6 separate regions of the Homo sapiens genome follow, and all the other regions are linked to region 1. Evidence: promoter capture Hi-C in human tissues and cell types (Jung and others, 2019). All regions are on one chromosome and are shown on one strand. The core of a region is centred on a gene start or on the middle of the fragment in contact, and the rest is flanking DNA. Distances in the headings are between cores, read along the strand shown.

Region 1 (3,689 bases), core at 782-3,281:
TGGGTCCAGCCTGGACACCGCCCTGTGCATCACAGCTGAAGAGTGAGTCTGCAGCCGACTTGAGTGTCCCTGGGGGGCAAGTTGTTGCGGCAGCCCTGGGACCCCACCCCAAAGGTGCTCGCAGGCCCTCTAGGGCGTTCCCGGGATGAGATCAGCCATTCTCCTCGGGAGGGCTACAGCAGCCCTGAGTAACACCAGGCTCTAGCTGGGATTAGGAGATAAGCTTGCTGGGGCTTGGCGGGTGGCCACACAACGGGTAGGTGGGCGGGGAGGGACGGTGTGGGTGGAGGCTTGGCTCAGGTATCTGCAAGCGTTATCTGTGTCTGCGAGGGAGAGAGAGAAGGAAGGGAGGCTATAAATAGAAACCTTTCCAGGCGAGGAACAGGTGAATAAGCAGAAGGCAGGCATGTGTCCTCTGAAATCTACACTCCCGGCGTGGTGGTGCCAGGCCATGCTTGCAGGAGAGGCGGGCACCTTCTTCCAGGGGCACCTCCACCTGTCCTTCCACTCCCCCTCACCAAGTGGCAGACAAGCTGGAGTGTGGCTGGGTCCCAATCCCACTGTGTCCTAACCTCTCACAGCCTTGGTCTTCTTTTTTGTTTTTTTTTAATTTTTTGAGACAGGGTCTTGCTCTGTTGTCCAGACTGGAGTGCAGTGGGGTCATCATAGCTCACAGCAGCCTCCACCTCCTGGAGGCTACTGCAACAAGCAATCCTCCCTCCTCAGCGTCCTGAGTAGCTGGGACTGAAGATGGGTGTTGCCACGCCTGGCTAATTAAAATAATTTTTTTTTTTTTTTTTGTAGAGACGGGGTCTCATGTTGTTTTTCAGGCTGGTCTCAAACTCCTGGGCTCAAGCAGTCCTCTTGTCTCAGCCTCCCACAGTGCTGGGATTACAGGCGTGAGCTGCTGAGCCCAGACTCACAGCCTAGTTTTTTTTCATTGGCAAAGTGGGGCTGATACTAGCCCAGCTTTTCACACCCTGGACGTGTGATGTGGGACGTGGGATGCTGGTGTGGCACGGCCCTCCTCCCTGCTGTCTGTCCCTCAGAGCTTCCATGGACTCACCACCCCCCACCTTCTCCACCCCCGGCCCACAGGGGGCAAAGGCCACCCAGCTCTGAGGTGGAAGCCCTGCTGGGGAGGCAGGCCGGCGGCACAGCCAGGGACACCCTGTGTGCACGCCAGCCCAGAGACGGCCCCACCTGGCCCCCAACGTTATGAAATGTCCATGTCAAAAGAGACCCAGACACTGGACACAGCGGCTCCCAGCTTTTTATGACCCTGAGGGCTCTACAGGACCACAAAGGAGGGAAACGGATTGCCCAGGTCACACGTGCAGCTGTTGCAGAATTCACGTGATTCACCGGTTTTATTAAACTTCCCATAACCATGTCTGACCCCCTGGGAATTCCAGAATTCCAGGCCAAGTCCTCCGTCCCCCAAAAAACAGCTTTCTGGAGGCACTGGACAAACTCCTAAAGGGCTGACTCCAGTGGGGGAAGCCTTCGGAGACTGCAGCCCATCCAGAAAGGACCACTGTCTCCAGGCCACCGGTCCCGGGCCTGTTCCAGAGCCGCCAGTAGGGCTGGTCACTAGGGTCAGCTTCGTTTCGCCTGGGCTCTCCCCATCAATCCTGTCCTGTGAGTTTGCAGAAGGGATGGGGAGGCGAGGCCAGGCCGCAGAGTGAGCGTCATTCTCCGCAGCAAGGGTTCTCCAAGGACCGCGCTCGGCCGACGCTTCCACATTCTGTGGAAGAGATTCTCGCTCGGTTTCCACACAGCTTTGAACTCTGCCCTTCACTCACGGCGAGTGGGTGGCCAGGCCCGACGGGTCGGTGTGTGACTCGGCGGCGCGCACGCCAGAGAATTCCCGTGGGGAGGACACCGGCGGCCACGCGCTCCCCGCCCCGTCCCGCCCGCGCACCTGTCCTGGGCGTGTTGCCCGAGACCCCGCCTCGCCCTCAGTTCCGCCCCCGTGGCCCCGCCCCACTCGCGCCGGGCGCTGGTTGGCGGAGGCGGCGCGCTATGCTAATGAGCCTGACCCCTTCAAGCGCCGGCGGACGCAGCAGTCCGGACCCAGGCGCGCCCCTCCCGCCCCAGCCCACCCCGGCCTGCCGCCCGGGAGGGGAACATGCCGCGCTCCTTCCTGGTGAAAACGCACTCCAGCCACAGGGTCCCCAACTACCGGCGGCTGGAGACGCAGAGAGGTACTGACTACCCGATCCCCGAGCCCCTGCCGGGACTCGACCCTGAGGGGCGGGAGAGAGAGAGAGGCCCCTGGGAGCGGGGGCTGGGGAGACACCTGTCCCAGGTGGGAGGAGAAGGAGCCAGCGCCTCTGCGCAGCGGCTGCGGCTGCAGGGAGGGAGGTGGCCCACGGGCGCCTCCACTTCAGGGCACTGAGCCCCGCCTCCGGCAGGGCGGGCGGGATTCTCTCCCAACTTGGAGAAGTTTTCTAAGTTTTCTAAGCCCCCAAGTCTCCCTGGAACTCACCCCTGATATACAGCCGCCCGTCCCAACCACTACAGCCCCAGCTAAAGGCACCCTGGAGTCATCTTCCTGGCGCACACGTTTGGGAGGGGTCGCGGGGTGGTGGGTGGGAGGGAAGGAGGGCCGTCTGGGGCGGCCCGGCTCAGGGACCCCCGGAGCATGCTGACTGGGGGTGTAAGCACAGGGGATGGTGAGAAGGACACATGGGCTCTTTCTGGTGCAAAGGCACTGCCCCTCCTGCATTCAGTTCAGGTGAGCCTCCGCCCGTGGTCTCCCTCCCTCCCCCACCTCCCTTCACCCCAGAAGCCCTCCTGCTCACCCCGGCAGGCTTGCCTGGGCAGGCTGGGCTAAAGGGCTGCAATCCTCCACACACCGGCTAGGCTGGGGAGATGGGTGCCCAGCAACCGGGCTGCCCGTTCATTCCCACTGCCTGCTAGGCTTAGGGACACGAGAGAAGAGGACTCTGTCCTTCAGAGGACAGCCTGCCACACGGGCGGTGAGAGCAGTCCCCACCTGGCTTGGCAGCTTCTTGGGACAAAGGCCCACTGAGGGGCGCCGGCGGACGCGGTGGTCGGGACTCACGCTCTGTGGCCGGTGGGGGAGAGCAGGAAGGGCGCTGTTGGGGCTGTGGCCCCCAGCAACACCGCCAAGAGGCCTTTATCCCAGCTCAGAACCCAGAGTTGGGGATGGGGGGGATCCCACCTGGACCCACACCCGAGGCCCGGGCTGCCACCAGGGGGTGCCAGCTAGGACCATGCTTTTCAAATGTGCATTTTGAAATCAGTTTCATCAGTCACCCCCAGCAATTTTGTAAAATAAAATAGAGCAGAAACTGCCGGAGTGCCTGGCTCATGGTGAAGGACACTGGCTTCTGTTATGTGTATGTGGATGCGCATGTGACTACACATGTGTGCGGAATTTACATGGGTAATAGTTGCAAGTTTCAAAGTGTTGCTTAGGGTCCATCCCAGTGTGCAAATCTGGGTAGCTGTGCTGGGCCCAGTGGGCAACTGTCGTGAGTAGCCGTGCTGCCCCGCAGTGCTCTCTGCTCCCCGCCCCCGCTCCCCTCCTCACTGTAGCCCCAGCTGCCTGGCTTTCTGACAGCCAGGGGGCCCTGGCAACTTTCTGCCAAGATGTTACCCCAGGATAGACCTGAGGTGCTGGGATTTGGGGCCCCTCAATCTCTCCTTTTAAATAAATG
Region 2 (3,362 bases), core at 166-2,665, 830 kb before region 1:
TGAAACCGAGTCTCTACTAAAAATACAAAAAATGAGCCGGGTATGGTGGCGGGCACCTGTAGTCCCAGCTACTCGGGAGGCTAAGGCAGGAGAATGGCGTGAACCTGGGAGACGGAGCTTGCAGTGAGCTGAGATCACACCACTGCACTCCAGCCCAGGCGACAGAGCGAGACTCCGTCTCAAAAAAAAAAAAAAAAAAAGGTCAAGGCCAGGCACGGTGGTTCACACCTGTAATCTCAGCACTTTGGGAGGCCAAGGTGGGTGAATCACCTGAGGTCAGGAGTTTGAGACCAGCCTGGCCAACAAGACAAAACCTCATCTCTACTATACAAAAAGAGGGCCTGACGCGGTGGCTCACGCCTGTAATCCTAGAACTTTGGGAGGCCAAGGTGAGCAGATCACAAGGTCAGGAGATCGAGACCATCCTGGCTAACATGGTGAAACCCAGTCTCTAATAAAACAAAAAAATTAGCCGGGTGCGGTGGCGGGTGCCTGTAGTCCCAGCTACTAGGGAGGCTGAGGCAGGAGAATGGCATGAACCCAGGAAGTGGAGCTTGCAGTGAGCCGAGATTGTGCCACTGCACTCCAGCCTGGGCGACAGAGCGAGACTCCGTCTCAAAAACAAACAAACGAACAAAAAACAAAAAATTAGCAGGGTGTGGTGGTGAGCACCTGTAATCCCAGCTACTTCGGAGGCTGAGGCAGGAGAATTGCTTGAACCCGGGAGGGGGAGGTTGCATTGAGCTGAGATCGCACCACTGCACTCCAGCCGGGGCAACAGAGTGAGATTCTGGCAAAAAAAAAAAAAAAAAAAAAAAAAAAAAAAAGTCAAAGGACACACTTTATTGAAATGTTGAAGTATACAGGGAAAGAGCCCTGAAATCAATTCAGAACAATTTTGTATGAAGATTCAGAAGTCTTTTAGAAGATAGTTCTGAGTGGCTGTAAGCATTGACACTTACCGTAAAACCAACAGTAAGCTGAAGATGAGCCTAAAGCCAGAAACGCCTAAACTGAATCCACCTGCGAAACACTGGTGTCCCTTCCCGCAGTTATGACCTCCCCTCGAGAGCTCAGTAGGGAGAGTCAGAGCTCCTCTCTCACAGAGTAAAGCTGTCCCTGGCCTTGGCAAATGCAGCGTCTCACACAAAATCAATCAAGAAGGACGTCACTCCTGAAACAAACTCCTGCTAAACTCGAATTCACAATAATAATCCCCTCATCCAATAGCTGAACCATCATTTCCACATCCTGAAAGCTTTCCTGAAAAGCAACATGGGAAGAAAAAGTCCTTATGACAGTTCCTCACTCGCCTTCCAAGGCCAGGTGCCTTTCTAGAAAGATGAGCTCTGCTGAGCAGGGCGTCCATCTTAACAACGCTGATTTCCAGCGAGAGGCCTCAAGGATCCAAAAGCAAAGCATTCCTGAAGCTGAGTTCAACCCTTCTGCCCCCTGGGGCTGTGAGTCTGAAGCTGAGCCTCCAACTCCTGGGCTCAAGCTCCTCCAACTCCTGAGCTATGACTACAGGTGCACACCACCACGCCTGGCCAATTATTTTCTTCTTTTCTTTCTGTATAGATAGGGTCTTTTTAAATTTAAATTTAAATTTTTTTTTTTTTGAGATGGAGTTTTGCTCTTGTTGCTCAGGCTGGAGTGCAATGGCATGATCTCCACTCACAGCAACCTCCACCTCCCAGGTTCAAGCAATTCTCCTGCCTCAGCCTCCCGAGTAGCTGGGATTACAGGCGTGTGCCATCACGCCCGGCTAATTTTCTATTTTTAGTAAAGACGGGGTTTCACCATGTTGGCCAGGGTGCAGGTGATCCGCCTGCCTCAGCCTCCCAAAGTGCTGGGATTACAGGTGTGAGCCACCACGCCCAGCCTTTTAATTTGCAGTGAGACAGGGTCTCGCTATGTGGTATAGGCCTCAAGTGATCCTTCCACCTGGGCCTCCCAAAGCGTTTCGATTACAAGTGTGAGCCACTGCACCCGGCCCATCTCCCCATTTTCCAGACTGGTTTCACCTTGCTAAAAGGAAAACAGAAATGTAAAGACATCCAGAGGCAGCTACTGACTGAAGAACATCAGATGAATATACCTTCGTCCTCTTCAGGCGCCTTCCCCTTCGACTTATCCTTCTCCTTATTCTTCTGCTTCAACCTTGAGGTGTTAAAATAGAAAGTACCACCTATGAGAAATAGAGAAAGGATTTAACAATTAAGTTTTGCAACCACAGGGGAGGCATACAGGACAACAGTGTACTCCTAAATAACCAAAGCAAAACAAAAACCATCTGAAAAACCTACTTATATCCATAAGATTTATAAATATGAAATAAAGCATATCCTATATCACTTAGTCCAGTATTTCCTAATTACAAAATAATAAACTATTTTAACTTACGTTAAATATCTTTGCTACTTAAATTGCTAATGTGAGGGAATAAAAAATAGTTATGAACACAAATTTGGGAAAATATCACGAATCCCTTTAATATATGAAGTTGCTTTAAAAGAACTTAAACACGCCAGGCGTGGTGGCTCATGCCTGTAATCCCAGCACTTTGGGAGACCGAGGCAGGTGGTTCACGAGGTCAGGAGTTCAAGACCAGACTGGCTGAGATGGTGAAACACTGTCTCCACTAAAAATACAAAAATTAGCCGGACGTGTTGGCAGGCGCTTGTAATCCCAGCTACTTGGGAGGCTGAGGCAGAATTGCTTGAACCCGGGAGGCGGAGGTTGCAGTGAGCTGAGATCACACCACTGCACTCCAGCCTGGTTTACAGAGCAAGACTCCGACTCACAAATGGTTTCCAGACAAGTGGCAACAGCAGCAGCCCAGCCACCACCAAGAGGGGCCGGCACGACACTCCTCACACAGAGCTGTCTCAAAATCTGAACAAATCAGCGTTTACAAATGGGGGAGGCCAGGTGCAGTGGCGCACGCCTGTAATCCCAGCACTTTGGGAGGCCGAGTCGGGTGGATCACGAGGTCAGGAGATCGAGACCATCCTGGCTAACATGGTGAAACCCCGTCTCTACTAAAAATACAAAAAATTAGCCGGGCATAGTGGCGGGCACCTGTAATCCCAGCTACTTGGGAGGCTGAGGCAGGAGAATGGCGGGAATCCTGGAGGCAGAGCTTGCAGTGAGCGGAGATCGCGCCACTGCACTCCAGCCTGGGAGACAGAGCAAGACTCCGTCTCAAAAAAATAATAATAAACAACAACAACAACAACAACACAAAAATGTAGCTGTACGTGGTGACACATGCCTGACTTCCCAGCTACTCAGGACGCTGAGTGGGAGGAGAACCTGGGCCCAGGAGGTTGAAGCTGCAGTGAGTAGAGATTGCACCTGGG
Region 3 (3,719 bases), core at 913-3,412, 650 kb before region 1:
CAGGAGTCCTCCTGGACTCCGTCTGGCCCCTCCTTCAGTGTTCACCTGGTCCCTAGCACCACAGAAGCCCACAGCAAACAGACTCCTTCCTTCCTGGGTCTTTGAATCCAGTGTGCTGTCTGTGGACGCACACCCGCCTCTAGGTCTGACGACAATCTTGGAGGTGCGGGCAGTTGCGTGCCCTGGCGTGTGTGCATTTGGTGGCTGCTCCCCGGCACCTGCTCCCAGCCAGGCACCAGGTCCAGCTCTGTTGATGTGGCTCTTGCCTGAACCCCTCAAGTCTTGAGTAGCCCACAAGGACAGTGGCTCTGAGCTCCAGAGGTATCCTGGACAAGTGGCCAGAGGCCTGGGTTCTGTGGATTACATGGCAGAAAACCGTGTGGCTGAAAACGATCAGCAAATTAACAGTTAAAGCTTTTTCAAACCAACTGGCAGGAATAGTATCTAAGGTTTCCTGTGATGTTGGCCATCACTTCTTTATTTAGAAACTCTAATAAAAGACCCATCTGAGAGAGTCACAGGGCATCTTGAAGCATGTTGCACGGTCATGTTTGCGGCGGATGCCTCAGCACAGGCAGGGGTCTGGCCAGTCAGCTGCTGGCGTGTGGGGATCCTGCCCTGCGTTTCTCCTAGCCCTTTAGAAGCACCAGCTGTAGGGGAAACTCACAGGTACTCTCTGGGTCAAACCGTAAAACAAGCTTGTGAGAACCCACACTGGGGCCTCTCACTGTCACACACTGGGGCCTGTCACGGTCAGTGATGCCTTGGTCCTTGCTGTTTGCAGGCCCCTGGGCGCTCATGTGCTGTGTCCTGAGGGCTCAGCTGAGGTGCAGAGACACAGACTTGTCATCTTACCTCAGCTTGTGTGTGTGACGGGGCTTTGCAAACCAAAGGTTCCCTGCCAAAGCGACGTCACTCGCTGTTCTGCTACAGGGTCCTGAGGCAGCACGCACAGGCTTTCATGGGAGTGGTATAGCGTTCATAGGGAGAGGAGGGAGAGCACCTGCCCTAACCCACTGCGTACTGCGTGCTAGGTGGGAACCCACTCATCCTGAAGCTCAGGACGGCAGAGACCCCTGAATGCAGAGGCCTCAAGCTGCTCCCATGCTTCTGGGACCTGTGGGACTCACGGATGCCTCGGTGTGGATTTGTTCCTGTGCTGGAAGGAACTGGAGCCCTCTGTGCAGCCCTGTTGCAGCCCCTGCTTGGGGGTGCACTGGCCTCTTCTGGGAACAGGGGTGGTGTGAGGCTGTCACCCGCGTCTCCCAGCCTGCATGGAACGCCAGGACAATGGGGAAGGCACGCACTGAGCTCACTTCCTGTGCTTTCCACAGTGCCCCCACAGGCCGGACATGGGGCATCAGGGTGTGTCCTGATTAGTTATTTGGGGAGGTGGTCAGCAATCAGTGTTAGTCGTTTTTTATTGTTCTTTGCGGTATAACATCCGTGGAGGAAATGGCACACATCTTAGGTGCACATACGATAGAGCTCATGTCACATGTACCTGTGGGATCTCCTCCTGGACCTCCCCTCCACTCTGCTGCTTGACTGTCTGCCTGGCCCCCAGCACCATGGGGCCCTCATGCATGCAGAAGGCCACAGCAGACACACTCGTGTCTGGCTCTTCGAATCCAGTGTGCTGTCTATGGACACGTGCGCCCCGTGTGTTGTGGGCCACCTGGACTCATTTGCTCTTCTGCTGGTGGACACGTGGGTGGGCTTTTTGCAGTTTGAGGGTGTTTTGCACAAGTGAGTGTGGTATGACGTGGTTGGCGGCCTGTGCTGCTCATCCCTGGGGTGTGCCTGGGATGTTGCTCCTGGGCCCTCGTGGATGTGGCCCCTCATGGAGCGTGGCTGAGACTGCGCTGGGCTCTGCTTGCTCTGGGTCAGGGTCTGGCCTACCCACCTGGCTGCTTCTCATGGCCCCATAGCATGCCGCATGCCCACTGCCCACATGGGTGGGGTGTTTTCTCGTCACTTTGCCAGCCTGGAGTTGGACGTGGTGGGACACTCCCCCTTTGTGAGAGGAAGCAGAGCAGTGGAGGAAGAGAGGACTCCTCAGAGAATGGCAGGCTTGGAGGGGTAAGAAGAGCTGGACCCACTCAGAACCTGAGAGGAGGTTGTTTCTGTTCAGTCTTGGGGTACCCTCACATGTCACCAACTTCAGAAACTTGGCCGTATTGGCAGTACACTCACTGGGGGTTGACTCCCAGTCAGCAGGGATTGTGAAGGCCATTGATGAGGGCTAGGCCAGGCATCAGACATTGTCCTGAGCCCGCAGCTTGGGAACAGTGTTTTTTCTTTCTTTCTCTCTCTCTCTGTTTTTTTTTTTTTTTTTTTTTTTTTTTTTAAAACACAGGGTTTCATCATGTTACCCAGGCTGGTCTTGAACTGGGCTTAAGTGATCCACCCACCTCAGCCTTCCAAAGTGCTTGTTTTACAGGCTTGAGCCACTGCACCTGGCCTTATTTCTGTATTTTATAGATTGAGAAACTTAGATATATCTGACCACAGATTGAGGGCTCTTAACCAGTTAGGCCAGCATTTGAATTGTCCTGACTGCTTCCAGTGGTGAGAAAGTAGTTTATCTCTCTGTTCACAACACACGCCCACATACTGGGAACATACTCACAGAATAATACCGTCCCTTTCTGTGATGGTGTGCAGTGCCCCCTAATGTTTCCTGTTCTGTATTATTTCACTTTCACAAAATGGCTTTATTCATAATTGCCAAAACTTGGAAGCAGCCAAGATGTCCTGCAGAGGGTGAATGGATCAGTCAACCAAGGTCCATCCAGACGACAGACTATTACAAGGCCCTAAAAACAGACGAGCTGCCAGGCCTGAGTGAAAGCAGCCCGTCTCCAAGGACTACACACTGTAGGGTTCCGACTCTGACATCCAGGAAAGGGCAAAACTGTGCAGACAGCACAAAGATCAGTGACGCCAGGGGCTGGGGAGAGGGAGGGACGGAGGGTTGTGCAGCAGGAACACGGGGGACCTGGGGCAGTGAAACTACTCTGTATGATACCACAACGGTGGGTCCACATCAGGATACGTTCGTCCAACCATAGACTGCACAGCACCCGGTGGACCCTGAGGTCGTGCGGCCTGTGGGTGATGATGCTGTGTCCAGGGGGGTCTCAGCTGTAACAAACGGCCACTCTCGTGGGGATGCTGAGCCCGGGGGTGCAGGGGAACCCTCTGTACTTCATGCTCAATTTTGCTGTGAACCTAAAGCTGCTTTAAAAAATAAAATATGTTTTATTTTCAGTGTCTGTTTAACATGCTAAAATGATTCTGGAATTGACCTTAGGCATGACCCAAAAGTTGTGATGCATCTTTGACTGGAGTTCCCAGAGCATTGTTGAGCTTGGCCACTGAGTCTGTGACCTCACACCAGGGGGCAGGCGTTTTTCTGCATGCCCCACAGGGGCCCTTCTTCCCTGGGGGTTCCCTGTCACTCTGGGGGACCACGTGTGAAATTCCCCGGGTGCACAGGATGGGAAAATGGCTGAGAAGCGTGGAGCAGCCCCGCTGTTCTGTTGCAGCTCGTTTCTTGAGTTTGTAACTACGTTCTCAACTGTGGACCCTTGCGTTAAAAAACAAAGCAGCCCTAAGGAGTAATAAAACATTTGAGCATAAAGGAAAGAAATGGACGTTTCTAAGGGAATTGCTTGCTTTCTCAGTTGTACCAGGATAACCTCCTTGGAGGTGTG
Region 4 (3,492 bases), core at 696-3,195, 550 kb before region 1:
TGGTGGCAGGGGCTTGGTTTTCTTTTCTTTCTTCTTTTTTGAGACAGAGTCTCGCTCTGTTGCCCAGGCTGGAGTGCAGTGGTGCAATCTCAGCTCACTGCATGCTCTGCCTCCCGGGTTCACGCCATTCTCCTGCCTCAGCCTCCCCAGTAGCTGGGACTGCAGTCGCCCGCCACCACGCCCAACTAAATTTTTGTATTTTTCTTTTTTTTTTTTTTTTTTACTAGAGACGAGGTTTCACTGTGTTGGCCAGGATGGTCATGATCTCCTGACCTTGTGATCCGCCCACCTCGGCCTCCCAAAGTGCTGGGATTACAGGTGTGAGCCACCGCCCCCGGCCTGGGCTTGGTTTTCTTTAGGTTTATCCTGTCTGGGGCTCATGGAACCTCTTCAAACTTAAGTTTTTATCTTACACCAAATATGAGAAATGTTTCATCATTATTTTTTCAAGTGGTTTTACTACATCACACTTTCTCCTTTTCTTCCAGGATACTGAGGTCATGAATGTTAGCCATTTGGTATCATAACACTGCTCCCCAAGGCTGTTGCACATATGCTGAATAATTTAAGATTATAGTCTACACTTCTGAATTTTAGGTTATGACACTCTGGGTCTGTCAGTCCCACGGGTGATGGAGATACTGGTTCATCAGGCGAGTAACCTAGTCAGGTTCAGGAGGCAAGTTCTATTGAAACCATGTGGGTCGTGCTTTCCATGTTGATTCTGTCTTAAAGCCTACGCAGAACTGCTCATGTCTCTTCTCGGGCGAGGCTCGTCCACCTACAGAGTGGTCAACCTCACAGGCCAGCTCCTAAGGCTGATGATGTGTTTGCTGCTGCAGGACTGCCTGGAGGCCAGGGCAAGCGAATGGGAAAAACTAAACTTTCGGATTTTTTCTCTCACAGTGTTAGGACACCTGTTTCCCACTCGTTGTGTGAAAACGGAAGTCAGCATGAGGCCCCGATCTGGAGCCTAGTGGGTGCTGGTGCCAAGCTTCTGGGACCCTCCAGGCCTTCAGAATTGTGAACAAAATAAACCTCTTTTCTTCATTAAAAAAAAGAGGCCTTGCAAAAATTTTTATGTCCATAGTGGGAAAAATGACATTACACTCTACAGATACGGTCAACAAAAATCAACTCCAAATGGATTAAGCAACTTGGGATAAAACATAGAAACTGTGGAAGCCAAAATAGTACAGCATATTTAAGGCCTTAGGAGAAAAGAAATTTCTGATGAAGATAAAGGAAAGGTTGTATAAATTTGAGTATGCCAAAATTAAGAAATATTTTTCCTTTTTTTTTGAGACAGAGTCTCACTCTGTTGCCAGGCTGGAGTGCAGTGGCGCGATCTCGGTTCACTGCAATCTGTGCTTCCCATCTTCAAGCAATTCTCCTGCCTCAGCCTCCCAAGGAGCTGGGATTACAGGCGTGCACCACCACATCTAGCCAATTTTTCTATTTTTAGTAGAGATGGCGTTTCACCATGTTGGCCAGGATGGTCTTGATCTCCTGACCTTGTGATCCACCCACCTCGGCCTCCCAAAGTGTTGGGATTACAGGCCTGAGCCACCACACCTGGCACAATCTTTTTCCTTAAGGCATCATCACAAAAGTGGAAACAGGTGAAGTGGAAACCACTGCAATCTTCTAAGTCACAAGTGGTGACTCACCTCACAACAGCCTCACTATTTCTAAAAAAGAACAAAGATCAAACAAACCAGGAAAAAACAAGACCAGGTACTTCATCCAAAAAGGAAAATAGCCAGCGTAAGCAAAACCATGTTCATACTATCAGTAATGAAGAGAAGTGCAAACCAACACCCCAAGGAGATGCTGTTTCACAACCACTTTGGAAAAAACGTCACTCCCTAAGAAGGTTGAACGAGTAGAGAGAAAGAATAAAACTGCCCAGGAGTCAACATGGCAGTTCCTACAGATAGTTCAAGAATCCCTGGGCTGGGTAAGACCTTGTCACAGACATGTGCTTAGGTAGAGAGACTATGAGGAAAACCACACCACTGGTGGGGCCTAGACGCGGACTCGTCAAGGTGAGTGAGTGACACACACAGGTTCCTGACATGGAAAGTTTATCACTCACAGTGTCAAGAGAAGGCGGCACATCACTCCAGGCAGGGCCCAAGGGGAGCTGCAGAGCTGGGCAGGAGGCAGAAGTCAGAGCCAGGGGAGGCAGAGGCCACAGGGTTTTCACAGGAAAGGCAGGACAGGGCAGGATGAAGTCTGGGGCTGGCTAGTCTGCATACTTCCAGCAGGCCCAAGGGCATACAGCATGTCCTGCTGTCTAGTGCCTCATCCTGGGCTGACTTCAGGGAGGAGAAATACTGGCTTGGTGTGGTAGTTAGAAAAAGGAAGTGGCCGGAAATAAGTACTTGCAACAGTTGAGTTGCATACGCAGTGCGAGCTGAGTTGCATACGCAGTGCGAGTTGAGTTGCATACGCAGTGCGAGTTGAGTTGCATATGCAGTGCGAGTTGAGTTGCATACGCAGTGAGTTGAGTTGCATATGCAGTAAGTTGATTTGCATACGCAGTGCGAGTTGAATTGCATATGCAGAGCGAGCTGAGTTGCATACAGTGTGAGTTGAGTTGCATATGCAGTATGAGTTGAGTTGCGTTGCATATGCAGTGCGAGCTGAGTTGCATATGCAGTGAGTTGATTTGCATACGCAGTGCGAGTTGAGTTGCATACACAGAGCAAGCTGAGTTGCATACGCAGTGTGAGTTGAGTTGCACACGCAGTGCGAGTTGAGTTGCACACGCAGTGCGAGTTGAGTTGCATACGCAGTGCGAGTTGAGTTGCATACGCAGTGCGAGTTGAGTTGCATACGCAGTGCGAGTTGCATACGCAGTGCGAGCTGAGTTGCATACGCAGAGCGAGCTGAGTTGCATACGCAGAGCGAGCTGAGTTGCATACGCAGTGCGAGCTGAGTTGCATACGCAGAGCGAGCTGAGTTGCATACGCAGAGCGAGCTGAGTTGCATACGCAGAGCGAGCTGAGTTGCATACGCAGTGCGAGCTGAGTTGCATACGCAGTGCGAGCTGAGTTGCATACGCAGAGCGAGCTGAGTTGCATACGCAGAGCGAGCTGACTTGCATACGCAGTGCGAGCTGAGTTGCATACGCAGTGCGAGCTGAGTTGCATACGCAGAGCGAGCTGAGTTGCATACGCAGTGCGACTTGAGTTGCATACGCAGAGCGAGCTGGGTTGCATACGCAGAGCGAGCTCAGTTGCATACGCAGAGCGAGCTGAGTTGCATAGGCAGTGAGTGGATTCGCATACGCAGTGCGAGTTGAGTTGCATACGCAGTGCGAGTTGAGTTGCATACGCAGTGCGAGTTGATTTGCATACACGGTGTGAGTTGAGTTGCATATACGGTGTGAGTTGAGTTGCATATGCAGTGAGTTGATGTGCATATGCAGTGAGTTGATTTGTATATGCAGTGCATGTTTCCAGCAAGTTGTTTACCATCTTTAGG
Region 5 (3,430 bases), core at 679-3,178, 800 kb before region 1:
GAGCATGACGGCTTAGGTTGATGTTTTTCAAATTTTCCCAATGATGAGTATTGTAAGGGACCAAAATAAAAAAATGCCAATGCCTAGTCCCCTCTCATCTAGAATAATTCCATAGGTGATGATGGGGTCCAGGACTCTGAATTTCGTCAATTTTACCAAATACTTCGTCCAGTGAGGCAAATATGGAAACACTTGGATCACCTCTTCGTGAACGCACATCAGCGCATACGCCGGCTGTTTTTATCAGGCGCTCACCCCTCATCCAATGGCGTGACTAGTTGTGGGTGGAGCCCGAAATCTGGCTGCCTAGAGAAGGCTGAAGGTCCAGTTATAGCATAACTAATGTTTCCCCAGAGCTCACATACGTGCCAAGCACCGTGCTACAGCCTCCACAGCCCCTTCATTTAATCTTCCCGATGGGCCTATGAAATAGGTGCTCCTGGCCCGCACCGTGGCTCATGCCTCTAATCCCAGCACTTTGGGAAGCTGAGGAGGGAGGGTCGCTTGAGTCCAGGATTTCAAGACCAGCCTGGGAAACACACAGAGAGCCTATCTCTACGAAAATTTAAAAAATTAGCCGGGTGTGGTGATGCCTGACTGTGGTCCCACCTACTTAGTAGGCTAAGGTGGGAGGATCCTCTGAGCCCGGGAAGCTGAGGCTGCAGTTAGCACTGCACTCCAGCATGGGCGACAGAGTGAGACCCTGACTCAAAAAAAAAAAAAAAAAAGAATAGGTGCTACTTGTAGTTCCCATTTTACCCACCAAGAAACTGAAGATCTGAGAGACAAAGCCTACAGGGTGACCGCTAGTCACTGGTAGGGCTGGGATTTGAACAGGGGCGGTTTAACAACTGATCTCTCGACCATAATGCGTGTTGCCCAAGAAAAAAGACCGTCCTCACGGTCCTATCCACTCCGGACTTTGCAATTCCGTTATTTCGTAAATTGAGGCCTATAAATAGTTTGCTTACCCGTTGTCTTAGTCCCCAGTAACATGCAGAACTAAAGAAGAAACTGAAGGAGCACCGATTTTGTTCACCTTGCTTTTTGGTTTAGTTCTGGAGGAGAACACAGGTGCACTTAGAACAGGATCCACACTTACCAGAGGCTTGATTCATTTTAGCTGCAAAGAAAACCAGTCCTCGTCTACCTTTTTCGCGTGTTGGAGAACTAACTAGCAAGGCAGGGAATGCGGTTCGTGGGCGCTTGGCCTCCTCAAGCGGCTCAGGCTCTCAGAGCGCGAGGCCCAGGGGCTCTGGAGCCGCGGCCGCGACGCGCCCGAGGGCCGTTCTCTTCGACGGCAGAGCAAGAGTCACCGCGCGGGAGCCCCGAGCGACCGCCCCGCTGCCCCGGTACCCTCCCCTCGCAGCCGCCCAGAGCTCTTCATGCCCCGTGACGCCCGTTAGGGCAGCGCGGCCGGAGGCCGGGCCGGACGTGGCCCGAGATGTCCGGGGGCAGGCAGAAGACCACGGGCACGCGACAGGCAACCGCCGCCTCGGCTCTAGAGGTGGACGTTTTGTCTCCCTGCGCTTCAATACCAGATTTTGTTTCCAGACGACATCCCTGTTGCTTCCGGCACTTGGAAAGACCAATCGTCAGGCCCGAGAATGCAAGACCCACCCTCCTTTGCGACGGAGGCAGCCAATCCAGTTGCTCGCTACTTCCAGTGTCGCATGCGCCCTTACGCAGGACCCTGCCCAATCGTTACCGGGACGTCCTCCTAGTCCCGCCTCCGGACCGCCAGAGAGGCTGTCAATCCCGCCTCTCTCCTTCACTCCATTAGCGCACTAACTCACGGCGCTGTGACGTGCACAGCCCCTGCGGCCGGCCGGGGCGGGCCAATGGCGGTGGCGGATACGGCGGGCCAATGGGCGGGAGCGTCTCATGCGGCCGGCTCCCGCCGCAGCCGCCGCTGGGTCCTGGAGCCAGAGGCCGCCCTGAGACGGTGCGCGATGGACCGAGGGCCCCAGCCGGGGAGGCGCCGCCGCCGAGCCCGCGGCCAGACGCCCCATCAGTAGCGTCCGCACCGGGAGCCGCGGCTCTCGCCCGAGCCGTGGGCGCGCCCGAGGGGCGGGCTCGCCTCCCGCCGTCCCTCGCAGCTCTGCCGGGCCCGAGCCCGCGCCGCCGCCGCCGCCGCCTTGCCGCTCGGGCCGCGCGGCCCGGGAAACGCGGCCGCGGGCTGCATGGGCAGCGCCCGCGCCCCGCCGCTGAGCCGTCGCGGAGCCGCGCAGCCCTCGGAGCACGGTGAGAGGCGCCGCTGGTCTGGGGGCGGTGGTCGGGGCGGGCACGGGGCATTCGCGCGGCCTTGCGGCCTGCAGGCCTTCCCCGGCGACGGAGCTGCGCCGCGGGCCTCCGGGCGGGCCTGGGGGGTCGGGGCCGGGTGGGCGGGGGTCTTTGGGGGCCCGGGGCGATCGTGAGGGACCAATAATGGGTCCCGGAGCGGGCCTACGGGTCCGGGTTCGGGGCAGCCGGGGGTCTTTGGGGGCCCGGGGTGGCCGTGAGGGGCCCATAGGGGGCTCCGGGGGGGGCCTGGGAGGTCGGCGGAGCTTGGGTCGGCCGTAAGGGGCGGACGGGGGCTCCGGGCGGGCCTGGGTGGCCGGGGGCCCGCGGCGGCTCTGAGGGGCCGATTGGGGGCTCCGGGGCGGGCCTGGGGGCCGTGGGGGCCCGGGGCGGCCGTGAGAGGCGGACAGGGGGCTCCGGGGCGGGCCTCGGGGGCTCGGAGCGGCCGTGAGGGGCGGACGGGGGGCTTCGGGGCGGGCCTGCAGGTCTTGGGGACCTGAGGCTGCCGGGAGGGGCTGCCAGGGGGCGCTGGCCGGGCGCCGGGTTCTGCGGAGCTGGGGCGCCGACCTCTGACCCGCGAGAGGGGCGCCTTCGCCGTGCTGGTCGTAGTTGTTATTCTCAGCGTCCCTATTATTATCGCTGTTTTGAAATGAGAGCAGGCGGCTCTCGGGCTCCGAGCCGGAGGGGGAGGGCGAACTGGGGACCTGGGGGCGTCGGGGTTGCAGGAGGCGCGCGTAGGCCGAGGAGGGGCAGGAATGCGGGCAGCCGTGTGGGGGGTGTTAGGGGGAGGGTAGGCGGGCGGGTGTGGGGGGTGGCTGGGAGGAAAGCGGTGGCGGTGGCGGCTGCAACAGCAGCCCTTGGCCTCAAGGAACAATGTGAGACGTTGCCTGAAATGTTAATTTCCGTTCCTCATTTCATCATCCCCTGGCAGGGCGGTAGCTGTGTGTGTGGTGTATGTGTGTGCGCGCGCGCGCGCGCGCGCGTGTGTGTGTGTGTGTAGGGTTGGCCCTGCCACATTGATTCAGTCCCCTCTCAAAGAGGGATTGTACTGTTAACTCTTGTGTTTGTGTTATTTGGGAAGGTTGGTCGGGGGGAGTCTTGATTTTTCTCGAGGCTTGCTCTTTTCCTGGTGCCCCATTAAGATTTTCTG
Region 6 (3,618 bases), core at 380-2,879, 890 kb before region 1:
ACAATCCCGAGGGCCACCCTGGGGGTCACCCCTGGCCACCACTGTCTGCTCCACCCTCAGATCACAGATGGGGAAAGTGAGGCTCACAGAGGACGAGAATGACACGCTGAGTCGGGGGCGAGATCAGATTCACACCCTGGGCTGGGCAGCCCTAAAGTGCAGGCCGCTCCCCAGCACCAGCTGAGTGGGGAGGGGGCGTAGGGTACAGGGGGGCCCTCCCTCCTGGCTGGGGTACCATGGGCTCACCAGCCTCTCCCATCCCATGCAGTTCCCTGGTCCAACTGCCCCGTAAGGACAAGACCCAGCTGGGCCAGTAGGCTACTCATTTCAGAATCCTGAAAAATCCTGCACCTCAAACCAAGGGCAAACATGGGCCACCCGTACAGCTCACGCTCTGAGGGTGCGGGCACGAGGCCTCCGTGGGGATGGTGGGCTCGGGATGTGAAGGGTGGGCTCAGGCTGTGAGGGGCGGGCACGGGGCCTCCGGGGGCAGCCGGAACCCTGGGGACAGGCGGTGAGGGCGGGGCAGGCCCTTCACCCTCAAGGTGGATGACCGGAGACGCCACCGGGTGACCGCGTCCCTTCCACCGCCCGAGCAGCCGCCCGGGCCCGCGCTGGAGCCTGGAGAGACCCCTGCGCCGGGGAAAAGCGCTGGCGCCCCGCGCGGACTGGGGTTCGAGTTCCGGCTCCTCCGCCCGCTGCGGCTTCGCGCCATGCGTTTCTCGCCCTTTCGAGGTGAAGCCACGCGTTTCACGCGAGATGGTGACCGAGGAAGCGCCCGTCTGGCGCCGGCCCCGTGCCCCTTCGGACCCCAACCGCGATCACAGCGGGTTCGCTTGAGACCCACGTTGGAGCGGGAGCCCCGGACGCCTGGAGGTCCGCACCCCAGCGCGCGCTCCCTCGCCGGCCTGCTCCCGCCCAGCCTCCCGCCCCCCGTCGGCCGGCGCCCCTCACCCCTCAATCTCCTTGCGCCTCTTGGTCGAGCCCCCTGCCCGCGCCTCATGCCTGGGCGCTTCACTCTGGCCCGGGGCCCCCTCCCCGAACCCTGGGCCGCACCCCTCACTGCGGGGCACCCCCCTCTCTCCTCCGAACCCCGCTCGCCGCCACCTCCTCCAGCCCAGCCTCTCCCCACAGCTCTGGACACCCCACCCCCAGACCTGGTAACCCCCAACCCTGACCCCGAGCTGAGCCCCAGCTCCGGGGGGCCCCGCCTTGCGCCCCACTGGCCTCAGCGCGCCCGCTCTGGTCTCCGCATCCCCAGCTCGGCGCCAGCCCCGGCCCGGTGGCCTCTCGGCCTCCCACGCCCCGGCCCTACCTGCACCCACTGGCCCTGCGCCTGCTGCAGCAACGCCACGCTGGGGTCGGACTTGGTGAGCGGGTCGCGGTCCAGCAGGTGCCGGCAGCTGAGCCGCAGCTCCACCTTCGAGGCGCAGGGCGCGGGCAAACCCCCGGGGGTTGCCGCCGCCCCGCGCTCCGAGCCCGCGCTCATGCTCCCGGCGTTCGGGGGCCCGGCTGGGCGCACTGAGGGGCCGCTGCCCGCGAGTCGGCGCCGCCGCGGCGCCCGGGAAATGGTGGCCGGCCCAGGCGTGGCCGCGCTTCCCTGAACGCCTGCCGGGCGCGGGCGCACGTGGCTCGGGCGGCCGCCGCGCGGGGACTGCAGGGGGTGGGGCGCGGCCGGGGGGCGGGGCCGGGGAGGGGCGCGGCGGGAAATGAGGGCAGGGGGCAGAGGCAGGGGTGCCCCTCGGAGATGCCCGGGAGGAGACAGCTTCTAATTCCCCGGGGACCCCCCCCCCAACTGATAGCTTTGGGGTCAGGTCGGGCGCGCCCTCCCCGGCTGTGCGCATCCCCGGCCCAGGGACCGGCTCCGGGCTGGAGGCTCCGAGCTGCGCGGGGCCTGAGCCCGGGTTCGGACCCAGGCAGACACTAGGGGAGGCAAAAGGGGGACCCCAGCTTGGCACCAGATCCCCGCGCCCTTCCCGGATCTCTAGGATCCCATTTCCAGGCTCCGCTGGTTTCGGGTACTCGCCACCTCCATCAACAAGCATTTAGTGGGCGCCTGTTGTGTGCAGGCGCCGCGCTCGTCTGGGGCTGGAAGGACCGTCCCGGGGGGCCGAGGGCTGAATCGCGGTCTGATTCCGAGGGGTCCGCGGGGCACGGTCCACACCAGTCCCCCGAGGCCGGGGCGGGGCGGGGCAGGCCTGGGTTCCGTGGGGGGTGGGCCCGCTCCGCCCTGAACTCACTCCCCCACCTTCCCCATCACCGGTCCCGGGGGAGGGAGCAGCGGAAGAGGAGGCGTCGGCGGGGACAGAAACCACCTCGCAGTCCACTCTTTTTGCCGATTTCTGCCTAAAAATAGGGCACGGACCTCGCCAAAAGCCACGGGGGTGGGGGGCGAGGGTGAGGGAGACATTAAGACTGAAGAGGCGGGAAGACCGGGCGCCTCCGCTCAGCCTCGGCGATCAGGACTCTAGAAGAAGACCCTGCGGTCAGAGGGGACCGCCGCCGACAGGGCGAGGAGGCTCAGGGCCCCGCCGGCGGGAGGCAGCACAGGCAGCCTCGGCCTGGGAGGAGGAACGCGGCCAGCGGCGTCCCCTCGCGGTCGGACGGCGGGATGGCGCCGGGCGCGGCTGCAGGGCGGGGAGGCCCCACGGGGCTGGCAGGGCCGGGAGAGGCCATGGAGACCGGCTCCTGCCTTCCCGGGAGGTTGGCTAAAGAGGCGAGGAACAGGTCAGGGCGCAGCGAGGCCTGCAGGGCCCCATCTGCTGTCTCCCCGGCCTCTGCGCCTCCTCCCTGAAGCCCGCAGTGGGCAGAGGCCAGTCCCGCTCTCTAGGGACCAGTCTGGGCCTTCCCGGCCCTGTGTCCTCCTCAGCCCAGCCTTCCAGGCTGCCGGGAGGCCACATCCTCGGTCCCCAACCACTTCCATGGGAAAAGGATGCGAAATTCAGGCAAAGGGTGCGGGCGCCCAGGCAGCTCCTGCAGGCCGTGCCTCCCGCTCGGTTCCAGCAGCCCTGGGACAGTTTTCCCCAGACCAAGCTCCGCTTCCTGCCTTGACCTCACCCGAAAGCTCCTCACCACCGCCCTGAGGTTTGCTCGTCTGCAGTGTGGCGTGAGGCCTGAGGTCCACCAGGCTGTCTGAGGGGTACCCGGCTTAAACCTGGAACACCCCAGTTCAGCCCTTGGCTGTCACATAGCGGCACCCTGGCAAAATAACAGATGGCTTCCAAGCAAAGGACGCAGGGAGCCAAGAAAGATCACAGAGTTTGGGAATTTGAGTCTCTGAAGCCCAGGGCGATTTGGGATCTCCAGCCACAGCCCTCGGCCGGCTTGCTGTCTCCTGACTGACAGCCCTGACTGCAGCCTGCTCTAATGGAGAGAAACCACAGAAGGAAAAGCCGATTCCCCTGTGGCACTGGTGTCTGGACGCTGCCTGCCCCTGCTCAGGGATCAGCCCGCAGTAGGCCCAGGTACAATGGAAGGACCCCGCAGGCCATGTGGAGCCATCTTTCCAAGGCTCCCCCTCCCAGCTTTCCCTGCAGGGCCAGACACAGGAAATGAGATCCACACACATACACGCAGGAATAATAACCGTGTTCCTTGTTGAAATATTAGACAATGCAG

The links. Contacts are between HindIII fragments. The study calls those that stand out against the background at their distance.
Region 2: a fragment that was not itself captured here is called in contact with the fragment with the promoter of SNAI3 in region 1 in 3 of the 25 tissues and cell types used here (adrenal gland, bladder and small bowel).
Region 3: a contact is called between a fragment that was not itself captured here and the fragment with the promoter of SNAI3 in region 1, in 1 of the 25 tissues and cell types used here (dorsolateral prefrontal cortex).
Region 4: a fragment that was not itself captured here is called in contact with the fragment with the promoter of SNAI3 in region 1 in 4 of the 25 tissues and cell types used here (IMR-90 fibroblasts, aorta, dorsolateral prefrontal cortex and 1 more).
Region 5: the fragment with the promoter of ANKRD11 here is called in contact with the fragment with the promoter of SNAI3 in region 1 in 1 of the 25 tissues and cell types used here (dorsolateral prefrontal cortex).
Region 6: the fragment with the promoter of CPNE7 here is called in contact with the fragment with the promoter of SNAI3 in region 1 in 3 of the 25 tissues and cell types used here (heart left ventricle, heart right ventricle and spleen).

The regions. Positions count from the first base shown.
Region 1 is chr16:88,684,849-88,688,537 of GRCh38, reverse strand. SNAI3 (snail family transcriptional repressor 3) reads left to right here and starts at 2,031. Exons shown (of 3, transcript NM_178310.4): 1 at 2,031-2,207. The coding sequence starts at 2,132. SNAI3-AS1 (SNAI3 antisense RNA 1) reads right to left here. Exons shown (of 4, transcript NR_024399.1): 4 at 1,352-1,747. RefSeq lists silencers at 1,751-2,210, 2,261-2,420. The HindIII fragment of the contact is 11,241 bases long and covers 1-3,689 here.
Region 2 is chr16:89,511,774-89,515,135 of GRCh38, reverse strand. It overlaps SPG7 (SPG7 matrix AAA peptidase subunit, paraplegin), which reads right to left. Exons shown (of 17, transcript NM_003119.4): 3 at 2,099-2,188. Among named protein-coding and RNA genes, the nearest start is that of SPG7, 5.1 kb to the right of the region's middle. The HindIII fragment of the contact is 3,235 bases long and covers 1-3,032 here.
Region 3 is chr16:89,332,776-89,336,494 of GRCh38, reverse strand. All of the region lies in intron 2 of ANKRD11 (ankyrin repeat domain containing 11), which reads left to right. All of the region lies in intron 1 of LOC128462377, which reads left to right. Among named protein-coding and RNA genes, the nearest start is that of ZNF778, 120 kb to the right of the region's middle. RefSeq lists a silencer at 684-813. The HindIII fragment of the contact is 3,212 bases long and covers 557-3,719 here.
Region 4 is chr16:89,232,725-89,236,216 of GRCh38, reverse strand. ZNF778 (zinc finger protein 778) reads right to left here. Exons shown (of 7, transcript NM_001201407.2): 7 at 1-3,492. Among named protein-coding and RNA genes, the nearest start is that of ZNF778, 17 kb to the right of the region's middle. The HindIII fragment of the contact is 6,577 bases long and covers 1-3,492 here.
Region 5 is chr16:89,489,059-89,492,488 of GRCh38, reverse strand. It overlaps ANKRD11 (ankyrin repeat domain containing 11), which reads left to right and starts at 1,928. Exons shown (of 13, transcript NM_013275.6): 1 at 1,928-2,244. It overlaps LOC101930112 (a long non-coding RNA gene), which reads right to left and starts at 1,519. Exons shown (of 2, transcript XR_933895.4): 1 at 1,103-1,519. It overlaps LOC101927863 (a long non-coding RNA gene), which reads left to right. Exons shown (of 5, transcript NR_188547.1): 5 at 1-86. RefSeq lists silencers at 1,209-1,258, 1,379-1,468, 1,669-2,148, 2,723-2,772, 2,853-2,962 and 1 more and enhancers at 2,354-2,868, 2,869-3,382. The HindIII fragment of the contact is 15,043 bases long and covers 1-3,430 here.
Region 6 is chr16:89,573,769-89,577,386 of GRCh38, reverse strand. CPNE7 (copine 7) reads right to left here and starts at 1,629. Exons shown (of 15, transcript NM_153636.3): 1 at 1,316-1,629. The coding sequence starts at 1,489. RefSeq lists silencers at 2,166-2,235, 2,476-2,705, 3,166-3,423. The HindIII fragment of the contact is 23,727 bases long and covers 1-3,618 here.